Regions from separate parts of the Homo sapiens genome. Here all the other regions are linked to region 2. The links are contacts of gene promoters, found by promoter capture Hi-C in blood cells and fetal thymus (Javierre and others, 2016). All regions are on one chromosome and are shown on one strand. Each heading gives the region's core, a stretch centred on a gene start or on the middle of the fragment in contact. The rest is flanking DNA. Distances are from core to core; before and after follow the strand shown. Region 1 overlaps LOC102724892 (a long non-coding RNA gene). Region 2 holds the start of RPF1 (ribosome production factor 1 homolog). Region 3 overlaps PRKACB (protein kinase cAMP-activated catalytic subunit beta). Region 4 has its middle 16 kb from the start of PRKACB. Region 5 has its middle 62 kb from the start of SSX2IP. Region 6 overlaps PRKACB (protein kinase cAMP-activated catalytic subunit beta). Region 7 overlaps PRKACB (protein kinase cAMP-activated catalytic subunit beta).

Region 1 (3,540 bases), core at 990-3,489, 310 kb before region 2:
GCGGAGGTTTCAGTGAGCCGAGATCGTGCCACTGCACTCCAGCCTGGGTGACAGAGCGAGACTCCATCTAAAAAAAAAAAAAAAGAATTAAAACACAGAGATATGAGCACTTTTTTTTTGTTGTTGAGGTGAAATTTACATAGCATAAAGCTAACCGTATGAAAGTATACAATTCACACTTTAGTGGCATTTAGTACATTCACAATGTTATGTAACTACCACCTCTATCCAGTAACAACACACTTTCATCACCCCAAAAGAAAACACTCTATTCATTAAGCAGTAATTCCCCTCTCCTCCCAGCCCCTGGCAACCACCAATCTGCTTTCTGTCTCTATGGATTTTTATGTGATGTGTTTTAAATTTCTAATTGTATGAAGATTTTTAATTATAATTTTCACTTTTTTCTAACTTAATTGTGTTGTGGTCTTTTGATACTTATTCTTTGAATTTGTTGAGATTTGATATTTGCTTTCTGCCCTAATTCACAATTAGTTTTTACAAAGGTAATATGTGATTTTAAAAAGAATGTATATTCCCCAGTGGTTGAATGCAGTGCTCTATATAAGTCTTTTATATCAAACTTGTTAATCGTCTTGTTCAAATCTTTATAACTTTACTGAATTTTTTGGCTGTTTGATCTATCAGTTACTAAGAAAGACATGTTAAAGCTCCCACTCTGATCACAAATTTGTCAATTACTCCTTGAAGTACTGTCAGTTTTTGCTTAGTGATAGACTTTTCAGATAACATGGAGAGGCGCTAATCAAAACAGAAACTTCAGATGTGCTAAACGTGCAAAAAGACCATCAGCTGTGTCAGTTTCTTTCTGCCGTATTAGCCTAGTTTGGTCAAAGTCTTCCCAGAATAAGGAAGCCCTGGCTCTTGCACTCTCTCCCCTTCTCTTTTCCTTCTTCCCGTTCCAGAAACGCACATGAGTGAAATCAAAGGAATGGTCTCAGAAGATGCTGAATAAAAATACTCTAGATCCTTGGAATTTCCTTATTTTATTTCAGCAGTGGAACTGAAAATATCTTTAAGTTATTGTTTCACTAATTACCATAGAACTTCATAATTTCCCATTTTCCACAAGGGTCACTGTGCACCAAGGATGGTGCTGGACTGAGCATAGGCTGAGTACTGTTGGCATCTCATGTCTGCTATACTGCCTCTTCATCAGGCAGTGAATGATGAATTGAGACTCAGTCCACTTGCGGGGAAAGGCCCCTATCATCCCACAGCTGAATTCACTCTGTTTACTGCTACTTTAGCTAGAACAAGAAAGAGAAGCATATGTGGTGAGTTATTGAACTTAGTTCAGCATCTTTATTCCTCATTATCTTCTACATCTAATTCAATTGCTAATTGAAATAATTACTGTCTTTACCTGGTAGAAAATTATATTGTGCTTGTAAGACAAGCTGACTGATGTGCTTTGAAAAAGCAGCAAAACATCTTTCACCGTGCTTGGATTCATTTCCCTTAGCAGATGATTTCAGTAACTTCACATCATTTTTCATCTGGCAAGTCAACAGAAGCCAAGTTTTGAGATAAATAAAGCTTGTTTCTTTGAGTGGAACAATGCCATGGAAGGTGAAACAACTTCATTTTCCATGCAGACACGCAGGCCCGTCTTGTACTTGCAGAGAGAGGTGCCTGGATTTGCTCAAATCAACTTGTGGTGCTCATATTAATTGGTTGTTTGAAATGGGCTGTCCAGCTGGCAGCTTTCAGGGCCACTGGAATGGCCCTGGGGTTGCTGATTCATTTCTCTCCCCAAGACTGAATGGCCTATTATTTGACCAGGAGGAAGAAGCCAAAGTAGTCTGCCCCAACTTGTTGCAAGTGATACCCAAGAAGGGGGCCAGCTCTCCAGGGCCTCTCCTGACCTTTGGAGGAGTCATACGCACCTTAGCACAAGAAATGCCTGGGGAACCGGTGCTGCATCTGGGACCCTGGAGCCTGCAGGTCAGAGAAGTTCATGAGGTTTCCTCAGCCAGTGTATAGTGGCAAGCAGAGATACAGTGATTAGCTGGGGTGTGCGAACCAGTCAGACAGTATAGTCTACAGACCTTTGGGCTCATTACCCACCTCAAGAACCTATGTCTGCCCATTTTCCTGATGTGGCAGCAAAGACAAGGACTGTGGGGCAGATTATCACTTGCCGAGTATTGTGGTGATTAACACTTTAATACTTATAGAGCCCTTCTAACATTGAGTCAATCTAGATCTATTTATTGAATATCTATGACATACTAGAAATAGTGCTAGATTCTTTGAAGGATATAAAAATACAAATCTAACAAGATCCCTGCCTTCAAAGTCCTAACAGTATAATTAGGGGCCAAGATATAAACACAAAACATGAAGGAACAATACCAAAGTAATTAACGTTAAAAACTGCCAAATTCATTTCTCACAATAGATAAATTTCTCTCTATCCTCAGAGGTATAAATGACCTGAACGTTTGGCAGAACTATCCTGTTAATCATAATGAACATAGACAATATTATTGAGAGCTTACTATAGGTAGGGCATTTTTAAGCACTTTACTCATTATTTTATTCAATCTTCAGAAAAATCGTTAAAACGTAGCAGAAATCTCAGAGAGTGAGGCATGATCCAGGTTTAAAACTAGACATTACAATAGACAGCCCTCTTTTGAATGTCAGCCTTGGCCTACCTTGTGCCCAAGCCTGAAGTTGATTCTTTCCTATGCTGTGACACGTTGCTTATTGCATTTCAGAAGTTGATCCAGGATGTCATATTATGATACTGGTCCGTAAGTGTACAAATAGGACTGGGTACTTGGATGTGCAGAGGTGTGTTCATGATGGTAAGAGTGCATTGTAGCAGTTAAGGACAGGAGGTGGGAATAAACTCTTGTTTGTAGGAAAGGTTTGTGGAGAAAGCTTTTCAATAGAATTCAAAAGGTCTGTTTACAGATTAGGAACTAAGGTAGAGACTGAACATTTCACCCTATAAACTGTCGACCGAGTATCTCAAGATTAGCTATCTAGTTAGCCCATTTGTTGGCTGAAGGAGCACCACGATTATAATATGGCTGGAGAGTAGCTGCTTGCAATACCAGTCACATGAGACTGTGATCTTAGAGGGCAACTCTTCAAAGTTCTCAGGAGGCTTCCTTAGGGTAGTGGAATAATGAGCAAAGAAGATGTAAATCTGACTATGTCACTCTTTTGCTTCAAACTCTTGTAGGGTAAGGTCTTATAAGATAAGGGCCTGGCACTCAAGGCCCTCCTCAGGTTCGGGCTTCAGACCCTCTTCAGCGCCATCAACCCCCACAGGCCAGCGTTCACGCACCAGTAGCACTGACTGCTGGCTACCTGCTCCATCTATCAGCTCAGTGCGTGTGCTGACCACCTACTGTGTGCCAAGTACCGTGCTCACCTTGGAGGCACATTGCCACGCTGTCCTATGCCCACCACTCTCCAGTCCCGGGGAACCTGCCACATGTCTGCCAAGGCCAACCTCAGGCTCCCTTCCTTTCCAGGAAGCCTAGGTTGAGTTCCAGCCCC
Region 2 (3,327 bases), core at 301-2,800:
TGGAGTTTTCTACCTAAATTACTGTAAGCCAAATGAGCTGGCCAATCAATAAGATTTCTTTAACAAAGACCTGCTCCTTTAAAAAAATCTAAACTGGCAAGTTTGAACATTTAAAATTTGAGTAGCTTAACCTTTTTCCATAAAGCCTCAAATTAATTAAAGTATGTGATGGTTTCCACTGTGTTTTGTTTTGCCTAACTGGTGGCATCCTAAAGACGACCATGGTTATGCTGCTTGCTTCTCTTGAAAAGCACTAAAAATAGGAATGGGAGCTGAGTTTTCAGGTTGTTTTCCATAAAACCATCACCAGTTATTCACATATTTTATAATCAAAATATACTTCTAAAATTTAGTAAGAGCTTGCAAGGTGGCTTAAGATTATCTGTATTTGTATTGTCAATCTATATATTCTTCTGGAGATTTCTAGATAGAATGCTTGACAAAATAAAAAATATTCTTTTTTCCCCAGCACCTACTGATCCTCAATCCACCAGGTTTCAGATTAGAAATCATAGCTCCAATAAGTCTTCCAGGACATCCCTCCCCAATACGTGCATACCAGAATGAGTTAAACGCCCCTTGTATGTATTGAAACAGCACCTTGACACTGAACATGAGTAAGAACCAGTCCCGGGCCTCAGAAGGGCCAGTAAGAGGAGGCAGACACATAATAATAATATTGTGTGAACTTCTACGATGTGCAAGAATAAGCAAACGTTTTCTTCCAATTGCAATTTAACCAGAAATGAGCACTGCGACCTTGACAAGTCGTTTAAACCTCTTTACGTTTCAGTTTGTTTACCTACCAGAAACGTATAAGGATAAAGCTGAAAAGAACAAATACAATTACCAGAAACTTTACAGTACTAATTTCGGTAAGGAGCTCCTGCAGGAATCAGAGAAGCAGTATTTTGGATTTATTACGTATTGCCTCCATTTCAGATTCTGCAAATTAACCAACGCTACCTAGACGGACCAAAGGGCTGAGACTTTTGCCTTCTGGGCCAGGAGGGCGTAGTTTTCACTACTAAGCCAACTGGCCTTACAGCTTTCCTTGTGAATCTAGCGTCCCAGGAAAGAGCCTATCAAGATAATCTTCCACCTTGACGCTCAGGCAAAAGGCTGAACCTAGAGTCTCCAAACTAGGGCGAGGGGACCAGAACACGTGGGCCGCGACGCCACCCTTCCCACGGAGCCACAGAGAACACTTTTGAGACCAGCAGACAACCACAGATGTGCGCCCCGCGACCGCCCTAAGCGTCAGGAACAACGCGCAAGCGCCCGGCAGCCCCCGCCTCTCGCGTACCTTCCGCTGCTGCTGTTTCCACCGCGTGAACATTAAGTGTCGCCGCTGTTTGTTTTTAATCTCCGAAATGCTAAAGCCTGGCGGAAAGGCAGCCGCTTTCGGGGGTTGGACCCCGTTTTCCGTCGCCCCATCCCCAGCGCCTGCAGCCTCCTGAAGTTCTTCGGCAGCGGCTTTCCGTTTTAGACTTTTCTTCCCGCTGCTGCTGCTCTTATCCCCGGCTTTCGCCATGGTCTTGGCTCCTTTGCTTCCGTACGGAAACGGAAATAGCCTTCTCCTGTGACCCCCTTCCTTAACCTTTTACTTCCGGGGTCGCAAAGTTTTTGACGCTAGATGTGTTTTGTGAGTTTTAGCCATTCAAGAAAATAGTAAAGCTGAGGCTTGAGGAAACTTTAGGCAGTTTGCCCAGCTGTATAAAGAGTGAGATGATGAGTTTGGGCACTCCTTGCGCATCTATGTGCCCAGCCCTCAAAATAATGGAACAACAACAAAAACCGTGCCTGGATTAGTTTACGTTTTACTTGAGGGAAACCTAAAATGAGCATACAAATAAATTATGGTGAGCTACAGAGTAAGACATGGTATGGAAAAAAAATAGAACAGGATAAAAGAAGATGAAGAGACATTCATCTTTTTGAGACGGAGCCTTGCTTTAATGCCCAGGCTGGAGTGCAGTGGCACGATCTCCGATCACTGCAAACTCCTCCTCCTGAGTAGCTGGGACTACAAACACGTGCCACCATGCCCGGCTAATTTTTGTATTTTTGCAGAGATGGAGTTTCACCATGTTGGCCAGGCTGGTCTTGTACTCTTGATTTCAGGTGATCTGTCCGCCCTGGACTCCCAAAGTACGTTGCAATTTTAAATAGGATTCTCAGAGTAGGCTTCATTGAAAACGTTACATTGAGCCAAGGTTTGAAGGAGGTAATGGGCTAAACTAGTTATCTGAGGGAAGAGCTGTTAATCTGAGAAAAGCTGGTTATCAAGGAGAAAAGCTGTCCTGGCAAAGCAAACAGCCAGCTCCAATGCTCCTAGTCAGTAGCAAGCCAGGAAAGGCAAGAAGTGTTGAGATTGGACAGGTGGTGTAGAGTTTTGTAAGGACTTTGGCTTTTATTTTATGTGAGATGAAGATCTCTTATAGAATTTTGAGGAAAAGAATGGTATGATCTTAACATCTTAAAAGTATCAGGCTGGTGCAGTGGCCCATGCCTGTAATTTTAGCACTTTGGGAGGCCAAGGCAGGAGGATTGCTTGAGCCTGGGAGTTCAAGACCAGCTTTGGCAACACTGTGAGACCCCATGTCTACAAAAAGTAAAAAAATATATATATCTGTTTGGGCATGGTGTACATCTGTGGTCCCAGCTACTCAGGAGGCTGAGGCAGTAGGATCCATTGAGCCTGGAAGGCTAGGTTGCAATGAGCCATGTTGGTGCCACTGCATTCCAGCCTGGGTGAGAGGGTGAGACCCTCTCAAAAAAATAAATAAAAATAAAGTAAAAGCGTCATTCAGAATCTTCTTTTGAGAAGAGCCTATGCAGGGGCAGGGTGTGTGGAAGAAGGGAAGAAATGATAGTGGCCTGAACCAGGGTAAGTCTTGTGTAGGTGGTTGAGAAGTGATTCCTCTGGAAGGTAAAGTTACTGATGGAACTGAAGGGAGGACATGAAAGAGTCAAGGATGACTCCAAGACTTTCGACCTGAGTGATTCAAAGGATGGAGTTACCATCAGGTGAAATGCGGGAAAGTTCAGATGGAACAAATCTGAGAGGTAAGATCAAGATTTCAGTTTTGGAAATGTTAAGTTTGAGATACTTTTTAGTGATCTGATTGGTGGTGTCAACTAGTCAGTTGGGATGTATGATTCTGCAGCAGGACAGAGAGGTGTGGGCTAAAGATCAAACTTTGGAAGTAATTGGCACATAGGTAGTATTTCAAACCATTAGAATGAGTGTAGATAGAAAACTGAAAAAAGAAGATCAAGGACTGAACCCTGGAGGAGTCCTGCATGAAGAGATGGAAAGAAAAG
Region 3 (3,298 bases), core at 241-2,740, 310 kb after region 2:
ACAAGTAAATACTATGGTTATTGTATTTTTCTGAACCAAAAAAAGTCAAAACCCACACTGGTATTTTTCACTGGCAATGTAAGGGAACTGTTCAAGTATGTAAAAATGAATTATATTTAGTTTATCATTAATTCTATAAGTATTTATTGGGTACCTTGCTGTGTTTGGGGTACTGGGGTGACTACTAGAAACATACAATGAATAAGGCACTGTCCTTGACTTGAGTTCAACATTTAGAGATTAGAAAGTGACATACAAATTTATAATTTCAATATAATACAATAATTGTTGTAGTTTGTAAGTTTGCTTTGGGAGTACAGAGAAATCACCTAATTCCACAGGGTCAGTGTCGGAGGTAATGACTGGTTCTCTAAATTTTTATGATAAAGACTATAAATATGGAAAGGTAGCAAGGAATTATATGTAATATAGTATGGCTAGATCAAAATTTGTGAGAGAGATTTTGCAAACAAAACCAAAAAGGTAAGTCATTGATTGCATGTGACCTAATAAGGAGTTTAACTTTTATTTTAAAGGCAATAGGGAGTAACTGAAAGTTTTCATGTTAGTTTAAAAAATGGGCATATTTGCATTTTAAAATTTTCAGTGTGGAAAATGGCCTGGAAGGATATAAAACTGGAAGCTGGGAGACCAGTAATGCAGTTATTATAATAGGATTGAGAAGAGATCTAGAAGCCATCCCAGTGTCAGTAAGACTGGAGAATATTGAGTGATTTTTGATGTAGAATCAATAGAACTTAATGACTGAGTACATGTCTGAGGGTAAGAAACAAGTTAGAAATGACCAAGGTTTCTGTTTTCACTTCCTGTATGGGCAGTGAGATCATTAACAGATATCAGAGTCAATGAAAATGGAGCAGATTTAGGGATGATAAAAGAAAATCCACTTTTGAACTGAACGTTCAGGTAATGACTGAAGATGTAGGCATGGATGAGATTTTTTGGAGAAAATGTAGCATCAAAAGAAGGCCAAAAGATAGATTCTCAGAGAAAACCAACATTTAATTGGCAAAGGATAAAAGGAATAGTCTTATAACGAGAAAAGTACCATGTACACATAAATATCACATGTGTAGTTACAGACTTAGATTAAAAGGCCTAGCATTTGCTTATTTTTACAAATAAAACCACACTTCTCTTGTAATTTTCCAAGTTGAAATGGCTAGGACACTTAACCATTTATGACATGATTAAAATCAGTTGAAATTGGGCATTCTCGACAAAGTCAGAACACCTAGTTGTGATTACTATGATTATTTGTGGTATAAAATGGCTAGAAGGGAAAGCCAATATGATCAAATATATCAAATGCTATCTACAATGCATAGCTTTTTAAAGAAAAATAAAGCAATAGTGAAGCAATAACATTTTCCTTCAGCTAAATCCAATCCATCCTGTTGTAAAACCTCCAGAACACCATGGTGGTTACCTAAAGATTCTAGATTATATGCCAAATTTTCAAAGAGAAAATATGCATTGGCCTGATTCAAATAAATATATGTATGACAACCAGGTATATTCAGTTTGATATCCATAGAAATCCTAAGGAATGTTAAGTTGTTTTTGTAATATTCGTTCAAATTTAAAACAGCAGATTATTTAAAACAGATCTATTTCAGTAACAGGAAAATAACAATCCAGTTAATTCTTAGTATTTTGCATGTTAAAATGTCCCTTTAATATCTAATATTATTCTATAAACAAATATATAACAGTGTTTAAGAGGTTTATATTGTACTGTAGCAGGATAAAGAATATTTATTGGTTATAATGAGGTGATCTCCAGTTATGAAAGAAAAGGTTCGTCAATTTTGAATTCTATCATTATACAGCAAAAATCCACCTTTCAGTTTCTAAATTCCAATTCCAAATCTTATAAATGCAAATTATAGGACTGTTATGTTATCAGAGAAACCATATTCTACTTCTCTTAAAAATATCTGAATCAAAGGTTAACTTCCAAGCATCTTATTTAAGCAAAAGATGCTAATGAATTATGCTCTAAGCAAATGTTTTTCACTCTAACAACAGGATATCTATTTTTAGCTGCAGGTTTGGCTTGAAGTGACAGCTTTTACCCTATGATAAACTGCAGTACATACTGTAGTATATTTTTTCAAAAAAACAGTTTTGGAAATATTTAGAAAAAATAAATCACATTATAACAAAAAAGACTAGTTGTCACAAGTGTACTTATTCTAAAAAATTATTTCCCCCAAAAACTGTTTATTAAAAATTTTAACAAACCCTACAAAACCAAAATGCTCTAATTATTTCATCATTAAATCCTTATTTCTCAATAAATTGTAGGTAAAAGCAACCAAGACATCAACAAAATTCTGGCAGCATCTTATTTTCAAAATTACTATTTAAAAAATCTAATAAAAATAATCTAATAAAAATTAGCATTAGGAATGACAAAGCTAATCAAAGGAAAGTTAAACTAATTATCTTCAGGATCAGATACTAAAAGAAAATCCTCTCTTATGGTTAGTCTACTTACTAATTTATAACACAATTAATAACAGTGCCCAACAAATACAATAAATCGAACCATAAAGAAAATTAGAAACTGATTATTGGTATTGATTATTAATAGTGCCATTAATTGTTTACAGTTCTTACTGGTTTTTGAAGGCAATTTACTATAATGCCTAAGTACAAAAGCGTCACCACAAAATATAATTCACAGTAGCTGTGGCTTTATAACTGTCCCTTTAAAAATATTTTTTCCTCTTATAAATATATTTTTTAAATAAACAGCTGCAGAGTCTCAGAGAGCATACTTACCACTCATGATGAAAACCAACCTTTCCAAAACATATTGCTCAAAATAACAATCCAACAGCAAAGGGAGTTATGCTAATCTCTAGAGGGAGAAGAACCGATGGTGTAAACACACACACTGGAGCATGCAGCACACAGAAAACGAAAAGAGCTTTCTTTTGTTTTAAAAAGAGAAGCCCCTAGAAGCAAAGCATAACTGCCTAGCATGAGATATCACTAGTAAACATCAGATTAATGCCAAAGATGTCTATAACTAGACTGAATTTCTTTCAAGCTAGTTATCCCAGCCTCCTTCATATACCACTAGAACAACTCAAAATGGCAGGGAGAAAATGTTCGAACCAGGATGTATAAGATGTTCTCAATTATATCAGCATGAGTTGTTACCACGGCAACATTAGACCAGAATTATCGGTTCACTTGTATCCAAGGCGTAGCTTTTCTAAAGCTTTAATCCACCAGACAAATAAAATACCTTTTTATTTTAGAG
Region 4 (3,349 bases), core at 87-2,586, 350 kb after region 2:
CTCAAAGCAGGACCAGAAAACAAACAAACAAATGGAATTTCATTGATTTTTTTCCTTGTCACCAGGGATTTCCTTACAGGGTCTCTCATTAGAGAAAGAGAGTTTCTCTTTTTTTTTTTTTTTTTTTTTTTTTGAGACGGAGTCTCGCTCTGTTGCCTAGGCTGGAGTGCAATGGCACGATCTTGGCTCACTGCAAGCTCCGCCTCCCAGGTTCATGCCATCAGCCTCCCCAGCAGCTGGGACTACAGGTGCCCGCCACCACACCCAGCTAATTGTTTGTATTTTTAGTAGAGATGGGGTTTCACCCTGTTAGCCAGGATGGTCTCCATCTCCTGACCTCGTGATCTGCCTGCCTGGGCCTCCCAAAGTGCTGGGATTACAGGCGTGAGCCACAGCATTTTCTGTCTGAATCCACTGTACAGTTCTGGAATTCTGACTGCCTTGAGTCTAAGCTGGAGGATGTAGGAAGAAATTGCTAAAAGCAGGAAATTCACTACTGTATTTGTCTCTTTTCAAGTTTTGATTTCCCTTTCCAATCTTCCTGCTATATTTACTTTTCAAAGTCTTTCTACAGCTACTTTATGTATTCTGTTCAGAATCTTTTTTAGGCATAATCAGTGGGAGGAATAGAGTGATGTGCATTTACTTACTCCATCTTAATTGGAACTAGAAGCTAATCTCATCACTTCTGATTTTAATAATTTAATAATAGATTTAGAAATAAAAAATGTAAAAGATAAAAGTTTTACTTTCAACATGCTTCACCTTAATCTCAGTGTGAAATTGACATACATTTTTCTGAGTAAATCCACAGTAAAGTTGTAGTACTTTTGTCACAGTACTTTATGAGACAAAAAGTTACATGCATACATTTCTTTAAAAAATGTAATTTTTATACAAAATTTCATGATTACTACTATCAAGTATGGTGTCATTATTAATATGAAATTGATTCACTCTTGGCAAACTGATATATTTTCAAATACATAAACAAATTTTCACAATTACACTCCATGTTTTTTATCCTTGAACTCACCAGAATACCTAAAATTATAATAGTAATATATATCTCAAAGTATAGTAAACTAAAAAAGTTTATAATTGTGCTGAATATTAAGCAGTAAGTTAATACAATATGCAAAAACAATGATCTTACTATTCAACATAAAAAGAGATATGGAAATTTATTTAATCTCACAATTCTAATGTAAGAATATTCAATTGCTCAAAACATATGCTGTACATTGAAAGGTAAGTATTCTCTAATTTTTCTTCCAGGAATTCAAATTGCTTTTATTCATATGTTTGAGTCTAGGGTACACTGTCCAATATTATAGTCACTAGTGACACATGGTTACGTAAATTAAAATTAAATAAAATTAAAAATTTAGTTCCTCAGTCACATGAGCCATGATTTCAAGTGCTCAACAGCCACATGTAGCTAAATGGCTACATGTGTAGACAGTGCCAACATCAAACATTTCCATAATCACAGAAAATTACATGGGCAAAACTGGGCAATAGGAACACACATAATGCTGACAGATATGCCACTTTTTAAACTAATCAGTTACCTCTATAATCTTTGGTTTCCTCTTCTGCTGAACGAGATCATTAATAACTTCCCTGACTATATCACTAGTTTTGTGTATGGCTCAACTAAGAGAATATACATAAAATTTCTTTGTAAACTGTATTACATTAATACATCTGATTAATAAATATATGACTATTATTTATTTAAATTAAAGAAAATCAAAGTACACTTCAATATCATATTTTTTCAAATCGTTTTTTAAAAGTCTAAACACTGGAAGCATGCAAACAACCAAACTGTTCAAACAAGATTTTTAAAAACTATTCTGTTATAACATATGAGCATGAAAATCGTGGGTATGCCATAACAATCAATTTCTGCAATTTGGACAGAATGCTATAGACCCAAATGAACAATTCCAGTGAAATCAAGACAATATTGTTCTTCAACATGAAAGCTGTCAGTTCTATGTGTCCTATACTGTCTAAAAATCTTGTATGCTAAAACATCTTTTTTTTTTAATTTTGCTTTTTTGCAGCTAAGGTACATACATTAAAGAAATAATTCTAACCAACATGGTGGAACCCAGTCTCCACTAAAAAGACAAAAATTAGCTGGGCGTGGTGGTGGGCGCCTGTAATTCCAGCTACTCAGGAAGCTGAGGCAGGAGAATTGCTTGGACCTGGGAGGTGAAGGTTGCAGTGAGCCGAGATCACACCATTGCACTCCAGCCTGGGTGACAAGAGTGAAACTCTGTCTCAAAAAAAAAAAAAAAAAAGAAAAAAAAAGAAAAGAAATAATTCTAACAAAGAATAGACTGGAATCTGAGGAATCCTGAGCAAAGCCTCTTTATTTTTTACACAATGTAAAATTTGGCAAATTGGCTTACTTTAAACAAAAAATTCCCACTAAGTACATATTTATCCTTAAAATAATTTTATGATTTAAGTATAGGAAATATTATATTTTCTTCAAAACATAAAATATATTCACTAGAAGTAAAATAAAGTAGTAATCAAGTTAGGAAAACAGTAAATATAGTCAATTGAATGTGTTAGCAAAATAACATTTCAAAAGTCAGAGTCCAACAGAAAATAAGAACTAAATTTATTGTCTATAGCTATCAAATATAAGAAAAAGAAAAAAAACCCGCAAAATTCATATTTATCTCACACAGTAAAAATAGCTCAGTAATGTGCCAGGAATAATTAGACTTTTATGGCAGATGATTAATTGTTTTGAACTCATGCTGTTTACCTAATTAAACTATTAGTAATACCAGCAGGTAAATTAACTTCATACTTCTTTTCTGGAAAGATAGATTTTTAATACTGATACAGTTGAATATCCCTCCTGCAGAGCTGAATACACAAGCATTTTTGTTTTCAATTTTTTTTCTTTCCAACAAAGAAATGCTTTAGCTCAATGTCGTATAGGTAATTTTAAGGAGCAGGGGAAAATTAGGATGCTTATTAATGATAAGCTTAAATTACATACAGCTATTTTAAGATTTTATTTGATAGATTACTATTTTGTAATTGTTCAACTTAGCAGATAATTCTACTCTTTGGTCTTCCTCCCTATTTATCTTCATCTCATGTACAAATGTACATTTTCTATAATGTGTTTCAGGTAACATACACAGCTGTCAAGACCTGAAGTACAAAGAAAAGAGGAACTTACAGAAAGATGGAAGAAGAGTATGCCATGCAGATGAAGCTGGGAATTAAAGACCCAGATAGAGGAATAAGGCAAAAAGAGTATGACTACTAGGAAGAGAATGGATTCAGGAATCTTCTGTGTAGGTGGAAG
Region 5 (3,150 bases), core at 615-3,114, 270 kb before region 2:
ATGCGGACTGGCCACTTGGTGTCGCTGTTGTTCCGCTGCTGGGTTCTGCAGCGCTGTCCCCCGCTGGTGAGATGTCCTCCCTTTCAAGTAGATGCTTTCTGTGAGCCGCCCTAACATGCATTTATTCAAAATGTATTTATAGTGTCTGCCATGTGCCAGAAACCATGCGAGTCTCTGGGGATAGGCTGGTGAACAGTTTGTGGAGTTCACAGTCTAGCAAGAGAGACAACCAAACAAATGAAATAATTACACTTTGTGATTAGGTCTATGAAGGAAAAGATCAGACTCCTAGGATGGAGACTAAGGTGGGCAACAGCTTTTTTGCAAAGTCGTCAGAGAAGACCTGTCTGATGACTTATTAGGCTGAGACCTGAAGGATAAGAAGGGCCGTGGACCTGGAAGGGATAGGTGAAGAGTGTACGAAGAAGAGGGACAGCGAAGCCCACCAGGGCTGCTGCACAATGAGGGAAGAGGTTGTGGCCAGGGATGAGCAGGTAGGGACCGGATCATGCAGAAACCTTTAGGCCAGGGTCACGCTTCTGTTCAGATGTTATTCCTGGCCAAAGGAAATGTCTTGAAGATAATTCGATTATTATTATTTGTTTAAATAATTTCCTTTTCACACCGTATTGCAGTTCCCACTGTATCACCTGTTGCTTTAGACACGTGAACACTTAGAAAATGCATATTCAATATTATAACAATTTAATTTTTTAACACAGCTATTGTTTTCCTAATACAAACTATGGGATATAAAGCTTAACAAAATCTTTGCTGGTGGGGCAGAGTTTAAGAAATCTGAGAGGCCAGGCACGCTGGCTCACGCCTGTAATCCCAGCACTTTGGGAGGCCAAGACAGGTGGATCATGAGGTCAGGAGTTCAAGACCAGCTTGGCCAGCATGATGAAACCCCGTCTCTACTAACAATACAAAAATTAGCCAGGCGTGGTGGTAGGCGCCTGTAATTCCAGCTACTTGGGAGGCTGAGGGAGAGAGTCGCTTGAACCCAGGAGGTGGAGGTTGCAGTGAGCCGAGATCACACCACTGTACTCCAGCCTGGGCGACAGGGAGAGACTCCATCTAAAAAAAAAAAGAAAAAAAAAAGAAGTCTGAGAGAAGCAGTCAAAAAGCATATGGTGAGAGAGCACTGCACTGTGACATGAGTTGGGAGACGTGGGCCACTGCCCCCCTTATAGCGCTTCTCACATTGTGGTCATTACCCCCTCACTTCTCTTCTGCCTCACTAGACTTGGGATCTAGAGGCAGGCACTGCCCTACCCACCTTAGTAACCACCACGATTAGCACAGGAACACAGCAGGTTCTCAATAAGAGCTGGATGGGAGGATGGATGCATGGGAAAATGGGCAGGCTCAGGGTAAGAGGTGGCTCATGCCTGTAATCCCAGCACTTTGGGGGGCTGAGGTGGGAGGGTCACTTGAGGCCAGGAATTTGAGATCAGCCTGGGCAACATAGACTCTTCTCTAAAAAAGAAGGAGAAGGAGCAAGAAGGAGAAGGAGAAGGAGGGAGAAGGAGAAGAGTAAGAAGGTAAGATATGTGGGAATACCAATGCTGATAAGTGAGCCTCCTGCAGAATCCTAGTGACATCATCTCAAAGATAAATCATTCTCAAGTTCTGAGAACAGGTGGCACTTCTTATCCATGGGCTCCACATCCATGAATTTTGGGTCAAAAATATTCTTGAGAATAAAATAAAAAATAACCATACAACAATAAAAAATATACAAATAAAAAACCAATACAGTACATCCACTATTTATATAGCATTTACATTATATTTGGTATACAGTAATCTAGAGATGATTTAAAGTATATGGAAGGATATGTATAGGTTATATGCAAATATGACACCATTTTATTTTGTTTTTATATATTTAAGGGTTATAAATGCCATTTTGTTACATGAATATGTTGTATAGTGGTGAAGTCTGGGTTTTTAGCGACATTGTACCCATTAAGTAAATCCTCATCCTTCATGTCCTCCCACCCTCCCACCCCTCAGAGTCTTCAATATCTAATATTCCCCTCTCTGTATCCATGTGCACACATTATTTTACTAGACCGTTTTATATAAGGGACTTGAGCATCTGAGGATTTGGATGTCTGCAGGGTGGTGGTGGGGAGGAGGGCGGTTCCTGGGACCAATTCTCCATGGATACAGAGGGATAATGTTATAAGACAAAGCATTTCTCTGGCCTCTTTGTGTATGTCCTAAATGCTGATTGAGCACCTGATATGTGCAAGGCACATACTAGACACAGGGATACAAAATGAGTAGGACATCATCATAGTCCTGATGCTACATACAGTCAATAAAGGAAAAAAGCTGAAAGCATAGTTTAGAAAGTGTTAGGTACTCAAAGTGAGAAATAAATTATGTGCCCTAGGGGTTAAGAAAAAAGAGGACTTTCAACTGTAAGGGTCAAGGAAAGTAGACCCTTACAGGACCCATCAAGGAAAGGGATGATGACATTTGCATTTCCTCTCAAAGGATGGGAGATTTCCTTGTGGATGACAGAGCTCTATGAGCCTCCCCTCCAAGCTAAGAGAGGTGGCTTGTTCCTGAACACCACGCTAAAGGAGAAAGAATTCAAAGCCATCTCCCATCCCTTCTCCCCATTTTGTGAGCCCATGATACTGCCGCCATAGTGCATCCAGACAGCCTGGCATCCCAGATCACGAGCTGCAAGCCACACTTGATAAGCACATTCTGGGTATGGATTTGACTACAACATTCCCAAACCTTCCAAGCAGTCTTTGTGGCTTCCTGTTAGAGTCTTTAGTTTGGGGTCACTCTTCATTTTTCTACTGCAGTATTTTTCCAACTACAGATCACAGTCCATTAGTGGGTCAGGTAATCAATATAGTGAATGTGACCAGCATTTTAAAGAAATGGACTAGAATAGAATGGAAATAATTAAGGTGCATTGCATAATAAGGGAAAGCTTTTATAGGTCAAGCATTATGTGTGAATAGTGGCAGCCCTGCTGGGTGATCCTTCTCTGAGAGGCTTCAGGGGACAAACTTCCTTGCCAGAGTATTGGTGCCATACTCCCATGGCAATTCCAAGCTTTGATAGAATTGAAGAGAAAGCTCCTAATTTAAACTTGGATATCCTCTAAGGCCCATG
Region 6 (3,594 bases), core at 928-3,427, 280 kb after region 2:
ATGCTGTTTCATAAAATAATATGCTTCTAAAATCAACAAAAACAATTCTGAATGAAAAGCATATTCTTAAATGATATATCATTAAAACCATTAAAAGTTCAAATGCAAATATAAATATAAGGATCCACAAATATAAGACCAAATTGGATTTTTAATAATTTGCACAATTTAAAAAATTTAAAAAACTAGTTAGTTTCCAATTTGGCTTTTAGCCACTAACCAGAGAGACAATAATATTTTTGCAATGTGAATAGAGACACATTCTAGTTTGAATTTGAGTTTTGAAACAGATGATTTATTGGGAAATGGTTAATACAATCTAACTTCACATAATACAGAGCCTTTTAATGGCAAAAATTCCACTTTCATGACTTCTACTTTAGATGAGTAAAGGGAGTAAGAGATGGGGATAATTTTATATCCCACATGGGGAGAGATAATCTGGTACTTTTAGTTAAAAAACAAAAGTACACCAAATATCCTGTCATATTTCTAAATAAATGAAGGGGAAAACAGAATATTGTGATATAATAAGGTTTTCTGGTGTCATTCTTCTAAGGTGCCCAGGATTTAGACTGTTATGATTTTAGAATATATGCTGATTATTAGATACAAAATTTTAAAGTTTGATATAAAATGAATATATATTCATAAACAGCTGAATATAAAATTTAACCAATAGAGAATGATTGGCAAATCGAGGCCAATGCATAAAAATGAAGACACATTAATTTTAACTAAAGCAGTTTTTCTTAATAAATGTAAATTTAGTTATGACAGTATCCTTGTTAGAAAATTGGATTTCTTATATGAATATAAATAAAAGTAATATAGTAAAGATTCAAGAACTTTATAATTACTGTCAATTAAATGATTTGAAACAATTATTATAACATTTACATTCTTAGTTTTTGTATTAGTAAAATATTCTTCTTCCATTTGTGATTTTAATGTATTTTGGTTCTCTCATCATTCTTCATATGACCTTTAGTCCTCTTGAGAGTCTACACTTCTCAAATTCTTCAAAAATAAATCACTGCCTTGTCTGTTAATTTTTCTCAAAGTTTTGTTTTGTTCATATCAAAAGTTCTGCTGGGAGAAAACAATTACAAAGATAAGAAGTCTGAAGCCAGAGATCTACAAATGTAAGAAGAACAGCAGTGATACTGATACTTGTTTAAATAAGTACTGCATTCTGCTTTTCTGTATTGCCTTTATCAGTGCACAGCATTCAACACCTAGCTAGGTTTATTTATCTGTAAGAGGTATTTATTTTTTTACCTTTGACATAGTTGGAGTATAAATTCTTTAGTCAGTCTCCTAATTTGTGAATACTGATAATAAATAAAACTTTCTACATAAAACGTGGCAAAATACAAGGGAAAATCTCATGACCCAGGTAGAGTGCATATGTACTATGAGATAGGGAACAATACTGTGCTGAAATGTATGTTCTAGGTGATTGGATAGACTAATTCTATTGGCAAATGTCTTGTTGCTACAGCCCAGCTGTGCAGCATCTATGATTTAAATTTGAGTGTTGGCAAAAAAAATAAATTACCACATTAGAGACATTCAGGGTACCTTGTGAATAGTTAACAATGGAAATTGTAAGTTGATAGATGCCAAGGGTAAGCTTTCACACTAAATGTAGAGCTTGAATATGGCTGAGATACAAAGAAATAAAGACCTTCCCTCTACTATCTCCTTCCGGCTTATCTCTGCCTAAGAAGGTCACAAAATACAAAGCAAACAAATAAAAAATAAAACAAAAAAACCTCAACTCTATAACATCTCAGGCTAATGTGATAAAGATTGATGCTCTATTTCCTGATCATATTCTAAATGGGACTATGTGGGAAAGAAAAGAAAAGACAAAGCAGTACCACATGTAGAAATAGAAAGAAGGGAAAATAAGCAAAATATCCCTTCCCATATATTTTGTCATTAATGTATAGAAGGTCTCCTTCTGGGAATGTTTAAAAGCCTATTCTTTCATTGCTGCATGGTAGGAAATTCAAGCTCATTTCTATTGAATTGACAATGGTCTTTTAAAAAAAGATCCGAGGTCTGAGCTAAGGCAACAGCAAATGACTGACCCTAAACAAAACACTCTTGAAAGCAAATTAGAGGTTATAAGTGCAAAAGAAGGAAGGTTTATGAAGAAATTTACAAAATGTAAAATACTACAACACAGTAAGTCTACTCATGTTGAAGAAAAATTAATGTTATTTCCATGTTTGCTAAAAACCAATGACAAGTATAATCACAATCTATATGAACAATTCTGTTAAAATCAATTCTATAAATTTCCATCTGAAAAAGGCTTATTCATTTTATATTTACTTTTACTTCCAATGTTATAGTATTGGACATAATTAAAACAAGAAGTCTCTCCTGAAAATGGAAGGGCATATAAAACAGCCCCTAAAACTTTTCTCCATGAAGATAGACACATGAAATAATAAACTATTTTTATTTATTTGAAGGAATATCGAGAATTATGGCTATGATCCTGTTCTTTGTGATAAAAATACTAAATACAGAAATTGCTTTACTGTTTTGTTAATTTCTTTATAAAACTGCCCTTTTTTTCTTAAGAGACTGAAATGATTCAATTCTTATGATAGTAAGAGCAGCAACTGTAGATTTTTCTATATTTTTCCCAATGTAGAATAATAATTATGACACAATATAGTTTCAATTCATGAAGCTTAAAATTCATATACAGTAATAAGAGAGGAATAATAAAATGTTTTACTTACCTTTCCAGAAACAATCTTTTCATAAATCTGAATTGGTTGGTCTGCAAAGAATGGGGGATAGCCAGCTGCCATTTCATAGATTAGCACTCCTAATGCCCACCAATCCACTGCCTTATTGTAGCCCTGAGATAAACCAACACCAATGTCAATTGTTACTTAAGTTACTCAAAAGAGAATGAAGTCAAAGATAATTTCAAAATGATCTGGAAGCATATAAAAATTTTTTTAAAGCAATTGCTGAGCAGCTATTCAGGACAGAATTTAAAAATGAACCAAATGTATCAGGTCAGATTTAAATTAAACAAAGGAGAGGATTTCCAGATACTGAAATTGGATATTAGGAAAGAGTATTAAATCTTCTTCCTAAAATTATTAAGAATATTATAGACAATGAAATTTTCTTTATTTCACTGGTATAATTTAGTTCTTGCTCAATAACAGGAAGGCAGTTAGACCACATTACTTCTTAAGGCCCACTCTAGGTCCATAATCTTATGAAACAGATTTTCCACAGCATGCCTAGAAAGATCAAAAGTTTTCAAAGAAAATAATAGAAACTGGACTACATAGTAAATAATGAAGTTGACTTCAAAATACTCTATATTTTTGGAGTTAGGAGGGTGAATGTGCTAGGGATAATCCCATCTGCTTCATAGGATTTTGTGAAAGCAAAAAGTTTAATGTAAAATTCAATTCATGTAAATATTTAGGTATACTTTACTTCTGCTATCTACTGTCTTGCTTCCTATATCTAAAAGATATGCAGGAAAAAAATGAATTCACAGAGTTTTGTGAGGACTGTATCAAATGAAAGGGAGTAACGTGTGTA
Region 7 (3,246 bases), core at 332-2,831, 290 kb after region 2:
AACTATCGTATTTAAAAAGTGCATAAAATGCCTGACTTCAAGGGTTTCTCAGCATTACAATGAGTAAATAAAAACTGTTACTTCCTGGCAGGACCAGGAACCTCAAGACTGTAAGGAAAATCTAAGACTGCCTTGGTTCGGCTTCCTTGCCTCAAGAGGTTTTTAAATCCAAGATTCCTATGTAATCAATGTAGAGAAAAAAGTTTTTTCTAAAGAATAACTATAATATACCTGTTATTAGACTGTAAGTCTGTACATTATTTTTGAGTCTTGTTATCTACCTATAGACTAGACAAGGTCCTAAATTCTTCTAGGTTCCTCCAATCGAACTTTCTTCCATAAAATTACTAAAATGAGAACCGCTCTGTTCCTGAAGTCCTGTTAGCTGAAACTATATAAATTTTAAGAAACAAGTCTCATGCCTGATGTATGGGCCACACAGAAAGTTCATCAAACTGCCCAAAGCCATAGCCAGAGACATTTACACTGTAAACAAAGCCAAGAAAGTTGATGTTTTCCATGGTGTGAACAGCTTTTCTCAAAACACTAGAACAAGACTCCATATTGTAATGAAACTCTTACCCCTCTTAATGCCTGCTTTTTCACTTAACCAAATAATATTGTAATTTAAAATTCACAATCAGTAACTGCTATAGGTACTGGTGAGACCTGCTAAAGCCATTGACAAAGCCTGACTTAAGAAATTCTTTCAGTTCATCTAGTCACAACATCGACAATATCCTTAACACAATTTTTTGTTTAATTTGTGCTGGTGGTCCCTCTTGCAAAGTTTGGCATTCTCTGCTTTAGTTCAACCCAGTCATAAAATGTTAGTCAATGGCTATAGCAGGTCTCACCAGTTTCCCCTGGTCCTTTGATTTCTTTAGTTTTTTGCCCTTAGGCCTGGGCTTTAGTTCAAAAGCACTGCACAAATACATTTTACTATATTGTTAATTTTTTTGTACTATCATTTGTAAGCTTTGTTCTTAGTGCCTATCTAATCTTTGTAAAGGCAGCTGTCCCAACAGAATAACGTTAGCCCAACACTTAAAGATGACTGCTAATACCTATGGAAGTGATAAGTGGGAACTCGATGCTGGCTGGACTCCAGACAAAAATCTACTTTGAGAAAAATTTTCCTTCTGGCCTCCTCGTTACTTGAATGTGGCCCAGGTCCCTACATAGACACCCCCCAACAGATAACTTCTCTCATATGTGGGACAGAGACAACCAGAACAAGTCCATCCGAGCACCAAGGAATAATTAAGCCTAACTTCAAGATGGTTGACAAGCAATGCTTTCAGAGAAAGATCTTGATCAAAAGGGAAAAATGTGAAAGCTGATTATACAAATTAGTCATTCTCATCATACCTAACTAAATCAGAGTCGAGGGGCCAGGGAATAACGCACTCAGGGCACACAGCACCTGCTCCAAGAATTAAGGCCAGGTGTGGTAGCTCACACCTGTAATCCCAGCACTTTGGGAGGCCAAGGAGGGTGGATCACTTGAGATCAGGAGTTCGAGACCAGCCTGGCCAACACGGTGAAAACCTGTGTCTACCAAAAATAGAAAAATTAGCCGGATGTGGTGGCGGACACCTCTAGTCCCAGCTACTCGGGTGGCTGAGGCAAGAGAATCACTGGAACCCAGGAGGCAGAGGTTGCAGTAAGTCGAAATGGTGCCGCTGTACTCCAGCCTGGGCAACAGAGGGAGACTCAGTCTCAAAAAAAAAACCAAAAACAAACAAAAAAATTATATTTTCCACAAGTCTAGTTGCTGAAACTGCCTATTGTAACCTGAAACCAGTTTTCTCTAACAGCTACTGAGACAACCTACTGCGACTCTTAGACGAGTCTGACCCACCACCATCACTCACCAATCAGAGCTTGCCAGCTCCCCAAAACTTAACTAGTGCTAGTAAACTTTGTTTCAAAACAAATAAACATAAAATTTCTTTTTATAAAACCTCCAACCTTTTCTTTGTTTTCTAGACACATTGAAGACCACCTAGTCTGTGTATATGCCTCAAACTGCAATTCTTGCTTCCTCAATAAAATGTTGAATTTAGAGATTTGTCTCTACATTTTTATTTTGACTTCAACACACTATACTGAATGAAGCTGTACCTGTTTTTTATTTTAGCTTTATTCTATTAGTGATTATTAATGAACGGTAGAAGCTTATAAACTATTAAGTACAGGTAAAACCATCAGATTCTATAACCTATTTTAATAACTCTGAGATCTTATTAGTCATAACCTGATGAGGTACAAACTCCCGTTAAATTATGTGTATATTTTAAAAACTAAACTTAGCAAGAACTTTAAGGAGAATTAAATTTGTGAAAAACAAACTTTTATAATCTTATTACCATAATACTATTATTATTATTTCTCTATATATTTATTTTCCATCTTCATCCTTAAAACAATCCTCTGTCCTGGAGTTGTATTATTAATCTTTGTTTAATAAATATTGATATTTTAAAATTCAATTAATTTTTCCATTTTCTGAAAACTCTTCAAGTAGTGGACCCTCACAATATCTAGCAGTAGTATAACATTTAAATTGGCTTCAAAGTCCTTTTTTTATATTAAATTTTTATATTCTTTATATTAAAACTTGTGTATGATGTGGCCTCTTTGTTTCCACCTAATGCTTCATATGGCCAAAATATTAATCAAACAAAATAAGTTTTTGGCATTGGCATCAACTTAAAAATCTGGTTAAACAACACAAGCATATAAAGATTTGAAGAAAGCAAAACCATTAGTTACCTGAACCTTCCAATTCTTCTTAGATGTGAAAACATTTCACCCCCAGGGACATATTCCATAACCATGTATAAATTAGAATTATCCTATGAACAAATAAAAAGGAAATACAATTATTCAACTTAGGTCAAAATTATTTTAATATTATATAATGCTGAATTAGAAAAATTTAAAATCTCTCTGACAGATTAATAACCTTGAGAAATAAAGAATAAATGGAACATGCTCTAGCTTTTCTATACAGAGACACTCATATTTTTCCCCTCCTAGTTATTTTTGCCACAAACTAGTCTGGGACTTTTGCTCTTCCTTTTCTTGCAGAGAACATCTAGTTCTCAAACAATTAAATACTCAGGCAATGAAGTAACGTTATAATATATGCAAAAGAATAACAAAGGTAAAAAACAATTTAAAAAGTTAATAAGAATATTTACATTTTATGTATAAAAGATTAATGGTTTTAATATTTTA

What was found. Contacts are between HindIII fragments. The CHiCAGO score rates a contact against its expected background, and 5 or more counts as called.
Region 1: a fragment that was not itself captured here is called in contact with the fragment with the promoter of RPF1 in region 2 in 2 of 17 cell types (megakaryocytes and M2 macrophages); the score reaches 5.4 in megakaryocytes.
Region 3: a contact is called between a fragment that was not itself captured here and the fragment with the promoter of RPF1 in region 2, in 7 of 17 cell types (naive B cells, fetal thymus, M2 macrophages and 4 more). The highest score is 7.8, in naive B cells.
Region 4: a contact is called between a fragment that was not itself captured here and the fragment with the promoter of RPF1 in region 2, in 15 of 17 cell types (megakaryocytes, fetal thymus, M1 macrophages and 12 more). The highest score is 11.3, in megakaryocytes.
Region 5: a fragment that was not itself captured here is called in contact with the fragment with the promoter of RPF1 in region 2 in 12 of 17 cell types (M2 macrophages, megakaryocytes, endothelial precursors and 9 more); the score reaches 8.3 in M2 macrophages.
Region 6: a contact is called between a fragment that was not itself captured here and the fragment with the promoter of RPF1 in region 2, in 2 of 17 cell types (total CD8 T cells and naive B cells). The highest score is 5.5, in total CD8 T cells.
Region 7: a contact is called between a fragment that was not itself captured here and the fragment with the promoter of RPF1 in region 2, in 13 of 17 cell types (naive CD8 T cells, erythroblasts, M1 macrophages and 10 more). The highest score is 9.3, in naive CD8 T cells.

The regions. Positions count from the first base shown.
Region 1 is chr1:84,783,576-84,787,115 of GRCh38, reverse strand. All of the region lies in intron 2 of LOC102724892 (a long non-coding RNA gene), which reads left to right. Among named protein-coding and RNA genes, the nearest start is that of SSX2IP, 95 kb to the right of the region's middle. The HindIII fragment of the contact is 1,353 bases long and covers 1,563-2,915 here.
Region 2 is chr1:84,477,489-84,480,815 of GRCh38, reverse strand. It overlaps RPF1 (ribosome production factor 1 homolog), which reads right to left and starts at 1,550. Exons shown (of 9, transcript NM_025065.7): 1 at 1,307-1,550. The coding sequence starts at 1,534. RefSeq lists enhancers at 974-1,133, 1,329-1,889. The HindIII fragment of the contact is 6,088 bases long and covers 1-3,327 here.
Region 3 is chr1:84,164,527-84,167,824 of GRCh38, reverse strand. All of the region lies in intron 1 of PRKACB (protein kinase cAMP-activated catalytic subunit beta), which reads right to left. Among named protein-coding and RNA genes, the nearest start is that of PRKACB, 22 kb to the right of the region's middle. RefSeq lists a silencer at 770-819. The HindIII fragment of the contact is 3,536 bases long and covers 1-3,258 here.
Region 4 is chr1:84,126,974-84,130,322 of GRCh38, reverse strand. It overlaps a transcript of PRKACB not described here. Among named protein-coding and RNA genes, the nearest start is that of PRKACB, 16 kb to the left of the region's middle. The HindIII fragment of the contact is 3,373 bases long and covers 1-3,022 here.
Region 5 is chr1:84,750,601-84,753,750 of GRCh38, reverse strand. No RefSeq gene overlaps it. Among named protein-coding and RNA genes, the nearest start is that of SSX2IP, 62 kb to the right of the region's middle. RefSeq lists a silencer at 57-106. The HindIII fragment of the contact is 2,207 bases long and covers 761-2,967 here.
Region 6 is chr1:84,201,977-84,205,570 of GRCh38, reverse strand. It overlaps PRKACB (protein kinase cAMP-activated catalytic subunit beta), which reads right to left. Exons shown (of 10, transcript NM_182948.4): 8 at 2,766-2,888. Among named protein-coding and RNA genes, the nearest start is that of PRKACB, 60 kb to the right of the region's middle. The HindIII fragment of the contact is 1,077 bases long and covers 1,639-2,715 here.
Region 7 is chr1:84,184,715-84,187,960 of GRCh38, reverse strand. PRKACB (protein kinase cAMP-activated catalytic subunit beta) reads right to left here. Exons shown (of 10, transcript NM_182948.4): 5 at 2,779-2,861. Among named protein-coding and RNA genes, the nearest start is that of PRKACB, 42 kb to the right of the region's middle. The HindIII fragment of the contact is 1,202 bases long and covers 981-2,182 here.